Regions from separate parts of the Homo sapiens genome. Here region 2 is linked to region 1. Evidence: promoter capture Hi-C in 16 types of primary human blood cells and fetal thymus (Javierre and others, 2016). All regions are on one chromosome and are shown on one strand. Each heading gives the region's core, a stretch centred on a gene start or on the middle of the fragment in contact. The rest is flanking DNA. Distances are from core to core; before and after follow the strand shown. Region 1 holds the start of ASNS (asparagine synthetase (glutamine-hydrolyzing)). Region 2 overlaps LMTK2 (lemur tyrosine kinase 2).

Region 1 (2,667 bases), core at 55-2,554:
GAAAAAGGTGAAATTAATTTTAAATAAACTTAACTCAGTATGTCCCAAATAGTAACATTTTAACATATATGTAATCAATATAAAATATTATCGAGCAGATATTTTACACTGTTCTTCCTACTCCAACGACAAAATCCAGTGTATTTAACACAATACATCTCAGTTAGGACTAGCCAGCACTTCAAGTGCTCAACAGTTACAGGTGGCTAGCGCCTACCGAACTGGACATGGCAGTTTCAGTGCATTTAATTTCTATTCCACTTAGTGCTACTTACAACTTCACCCTCTCCCTTTACTTTTATATTAAGATCTCAGTAAGTAACCAACTACAGACAGGTTCAAGCCCTACTTTACCTCTAATTACTCTTACAGCAATGCTATGAATCATGATTTAAAATTTAAAAAAAAAAACTGCTGTTAAATTATTAGTCAAGCGCCCAGGGCAATGGACAGTAAAGAAATAATGTAGGCCACGGGCCGAGATGAAAACTGTCCTTTTTATTTAAAGCTATAACAATCATCTGAAGCCAGCCCTGCAAAATGACAGCCATTGAAAAAGGCATGCTAGTTCTTTTGCCTTTTTCTGTACTTGGTCGCCTGTGTCCCTAAACAGACCTCTTCTCGGCAGGGTTTGCTCAGCAAGTCACTTGATGAGTCTTGCAGTCTACAGAGACAGGTGGGGACTGGTGGGGATGGCGGGGTGAGAGGGGAGGAGGAGGGTGAGCGGTCCAGGTGAGGAGGGGGGCAGTTGAAGGTGAAAGCAGACACCGAGACGGTGATAAGGCCGCAGTCTCTTCCTAGATCAGGACCACGCGACACCTGACTGCGCCCTGGCCACGAGCACGATCCGACCCGTCCGCCGCAGGGACCCGGACCGCGAAAATGTCCACAGGCTTCGACGCCACATAGTAAAAAAAAGTACACATATAACATTTACAGGGGCTCAAACTGCCGCTGCCTCCTCTCCGGAGCGGTCCGGCCTGCCGGCCGCGGTTCCCTCTCGATGCTTCAGGGAACCAGGACAGAAAGGTCCTTCCGCTAGCTGTCAGGTGCGTAACAATCGCTAGGCGTCCGCCCCGCCCTCCCTACCGCAGGAGCCGCAGCATCAGCAGGCGCCCGCGAACCGCGTCTGCCGGGTGCCAGGCTGAAGACCGCATCCTCCACCCCTTCCTTCCGGAGCAGCCCCAGGGCACGCGAGGAGGATGCTGGCGCGGGGCGCAGGGCACGGGGCGCAGGACCCGGCTCACCTGGGCGTAAGCAGGTCAGGGTGATGTGGCGGGCTGAGGCCAGGGATGTGGACAGCTTGACGGGCGGCGAGGCCGCTGGCGCTTATACCGACCTGGCTCCTGTAACGCGTGCGGGAAGTTTCATCATGCCTGCGAGGACCAACCAGCGCGCACAGGGGCGGGGCCGCGGGGTGTCCGGGGCGGAGCAGGACTAAGTGGGGCGGCGGAAGGGCGCAAGGAGGAGCTCTTTTGTTTCCAGCGCCTTGCGTCTCAGTGCGCCTGTTTAAGGATAGCCTCAGAGCTCCGCCCAGGCTACCTGCTGTTCTGACAATTAGGGAGGCTTCTGAACTTGGTTTGTTCTTCGGGAAATCATCACCGTTTTTTTGTTGCACTGCCGTCTGATTTATTATGCAGTGCAGAGAAAAGCTTGTCCTAAGAAACTGATGCGTGAGGCCTAAAATGTCCTTATAAGATCTATTAATAAATCGGGGCCAGGAGCGGTGGCTCACGCCTGTAATCCCAACACTTTGGGAAGCCAAGGCAAGAGGATCACTTGAAACCAGGAGTTCAAGACCAGCCTGGGAAACACAGCGAGATCACATCTCTATAAAAATTGGTGGCACACCATGGTAGTCCCAGCAACTCAGGAGGCTGAGGCAGAAGGATAGTTTGAGCCCAGGCGTTTGAGGCTGAGGTGAGCTCAACTCCAGCCTGGGCGACAAAGGGAGACCCCCATCTCTAAAACAATAAAATCTAAATCTAATTGATACATGAAGCCAAAATACATCAGTGGTCCTTAAACATTTTAAGTACAAAGATTCCTTTTAGAATCTCAAAAAGGATTTTGTCAACTTGCCTCCACAAGATGATTATGTGCTTTTAAGTATCTCTTTGATGAAGAAAAGACATCACGATTTTTAAAAAGTATCATAACACTCTTAAATCGTATTTTACTAATTACATCAGCACCGAAATAAATTGAGAAATAGTAAAATTATATGTGCACGACCTACTAAGATCAGACTACAGTCAATGCTTGGAGAGCATGCAGGTTTGATATCCCCATACAACGCATTCCTGACTAAATCAAAAACGTCAACAATTTAAAATCCCTAAGAACAGAAGATGGAGTAGTCGCTTAGTAGTTACAGGCAAGAGCAAAGATGAGAGATGACTTGTTCTAAGGTTCATTGTTGCTGGAAAGTTTTCAGTATCAAACAGACTTTGCTGTATCCTAATTGACGTACTTTAAACCTGAGAGCAATGTGGGAAAGTAGGTCTTCTATCTACATTTTACAAATGAAAAAATAAGACTCAGAAAAGTTGAGGGATTTATCCAAACACAGCTTCACAACAGTAGAGAACTGAGTCATAATCTGTGTAAACCCAGAGCCCATTTCCCGTAGCATCTTGCCTATGTAGTGAAAGACAGGTTCCCCTG
Region 2 (2,667 bases), core at 109-2,608, 290 kb after region 1:
AATTTCTCCTCAGGCACCGGGCACACCAAGATGGATGACGTGTCGTTGCCCCTAAGGAGCTCATGTAGAGGAGAGGGGACACAGAGTCACGGTGGAACAGGCGTGAGGAGAGCTGGGGGCACAGGTGGATGGGGTCCCTGACCAGAGCCAGCAGAGGGGAGGCCTGTGCTGGACAACCGCATGGGTTGAGGTGTGGGGGTGATTGGGTCGGGGGTACGTTCCCAGTCCCTGCGTCTGCCCTGTTCCAGTGCCCGGCCCTGTGCTGGGGCCCTGCCAATGGCCTTGGCCCTCCCCACGCCTGGCTGCAGCCCGGGCACTACGGCCTTGGCCCTTGCTGAGTCTGCCTCGGCTGCCTCTGGCCAGGCCCTTCCGGTCTTCCCTGGTGCCTGCTCTCCCTCCCCTGCATTTCCTCCATCAGCACTGCTTCCCCATGTGTGTGGCCACACTGCTCCTAGGTGCTGTCTTCTTTCTCCCCTGTTGCTGCAGTGACAGGTCATCGCTGCTTATAACCAAGGTGTGCACCTGTAGCTGGAGCGCTGGAGCCACACGGAGTGGCAGCTGTGATTTCAGCAGAGGTTCTCTGGCGCCCTCCGATGGTGCTTGGGCAGGCTGATGGGGGCCTCACTGTTGTCTGTAAAAGTTTAAAAAGAAAAACACTTTTAATAGAAAAATTTACAGAATAAGGATATAAAGAAAAATATTTTTGTACAACTGTGCAATGTGTTTTTGTTTTAACCTAAGTGTTATTACAAAAAGACTCAAAAGTTTTAAAAAATTAAAAAGTAAAAAAGTTACAGTAAGCTAAGGTATATTATTGAGAAAGACAAAATTTTTATATAGATTTAGTGTGGTCTAAGGGTCTCTTGAGCCCAGGAGGTCAAGGCTGCATACAGAAATACTTGCCATCGTGTTACAGTGGCTTACACTGTTTTCAGTGCAGTAACATGCTCTATAGGTTTGAAGCCTAGGCTGTAGCAAGAAACCACCCTCTGTAGCCTCAGGGTGCAGTAGGCTGACCATCTAGGTTCATGTAAGTATACTCTGTGATGTTTGCACGATGGTGAAATTGCCTAACAACACATTTCTCAGAAGGCATCCCCAGTGTTAAGTGACACACGACTGTATTTTAACAGAATTTTGGAATAATTTAGACTCTCTGTTCTCAAAGTAACATTTACTATACAAAGATAAACTTTCAAAGAGAATCAGATTTTACTTAAAGAATATTATTTTCCCAAATTAAGTGTCTTTGGCTAGCTTTAATGTCCAGAGTAATGAAGTAATAAATTTAAAAGCCCAGTAAAAATGTGAAATTTCAGATTTACTCCTAAGTTCATTCTTATTAGATTATTAAATGGAAATGATAGGGTGGGGCGGCTTTGGGAAAACAGTTGTCCCAACTTTAACCTGTAGGGCATCATTTAGAATGTCTGCCTAAGTGTTTTTTCTTTTTTCTCCCATTCATTAAGCAAATATTAAACACATGCTGTGTGCCCAGCACTGTTCTAGGTTTTAGAGACACAATAGGGAACTAGACGGAGTCCTAGCCATGTCTAGCTTGCTTTCTAGTGGTAGAGACAGACAAGGAAATAAAACAGCAGGGAGGAACCCAGGCTATCACGGTTGGATTTATGTTTTCAGGGACTGGCTTTGGCTGCTCAGGCGAATGGATGCAGGGAGGCCGCAGGGAGACTGGCGCAGGTGTGTCCTCAAGGTGGGGTGGTGCTGGGACCAATACCACAGCAGCGGAGGCATGGGAGGTAGTTTGAAAACAGACCCAGAACTTGGTGACGGGTTGGATGTGGCTGCCTAGAGGCAGAACTCACAAATGACATCTTCACTTTTGGTCTGACGCACTTGGAAAACGGCGATGCCACTTACTGAGACTGGCAGAGGTTTGTGCCAGAGGGCTCTTAGGCATACAGGGAGGGAAGTTGAGTCAGGAGATGAGGGGCTGGGCCAGAGAGCTGTACGTGAGGCATGGGCTTTCAAGCCATGGGGTGGCTGAAACCCCTGGTCGGGGAGCGCCCCCAGGACTGAGGACCAGGACGGAGCTCCAGGGTCCTTACGGATCAACGAGAGGAGGGAGAGCCAGTGGGGGGGCCGAGGAAGGAGCGGCCAGTGGGATAAGAAGAAACGCAGGAGGTTGCGGTGCCCGAAGGCTGGTGAAGAACATGTTTAAGCAAGGAAAGAACGGGCCGGTCTCCATTAATGCTGGTGAGATGAGACCCGACCAGCTGTGCTTGGGGAGAAGTGGGCAGGTCACTCCTTGATAGGCCTGGCGAGAGCAGCTGCCACTGAATGGTGGATGCAAGTGCTTCTGATGGTGGCAAGGGGTTCCTGAACAAGGAGCCAGGACCGACCAGGCTTCTGAGGAGTTTAACTACGGAAAGGAGAAAGAAGTGGAGGGCTGGGGAGGGGAGGGCTGGGTTTACCTGGGAGGTGTTTGGGGCCAGAGCAGAGAGAAGAGATGGACTCTCGAGAGGACTGAGCTTAGAAAGGCACAAGACGAAGAATCCATGGCAACCAAAGAGGAGATGATGTATAAGGTTATGGATGCCAGTGGGCGGGGGGACCAGTGGTGCTGAGAAAAAATAGACACAGGCAGAGAGCTGCTGGGAGGGAAGCGAGGCCCCGGGCTTCGCGGAGGCGTGGCGGCGTCAGCTG

What was found. Contacts are between HindIII fragments. The CHiCAGO score rates a contact against its expected background, and 5 or more counts as called.
Region 2: a contact is called between a fragment that was not itself captured here and the fragment with the promoter of ASNS in region 1, in 1 of 17 cell types (total B cells). The highest score is 5.2, in total B cells.

What each region holds. Positions count from the first base shown.
Region 1 is chr7:97,871,104-97,873,770 of GRCh38, forward strand. It overlaps ASNS (asparagine synthetase (glutamine-hydrolyzing)), which reads right to left and starts at 1,305. Exons shown (of 13, transcript NM_001673.5): 1 at 1,248-1,305. All of the region lies in intron 7 of CZ1P-ASNS (CZ1P-ASNS readthrough), which reads right to left. RefSeq lists silencers at 1,027-1,136, 1,447-1,536 and an enhancer at 1,186-1,901. The HindIII fragment of the contact is 3,580 bases long and covers 1-1,650 here.
Region 2 is chr7:98,165,758-98,168,424 of GRCh38, forward strand. All of the region lies in intron 6 of LMTK2 (lemur tyrosine kinase 2), which reads left to right. Among named protein-coding and RNA genes, the nearest start is that of BHLHA15, 44 kb to the right of the region's middle. RefSeq lists enhancers at 1-301, 302-817. The HindIII fragment of the contact is 5,014 bases long and covers 1-2,667 here.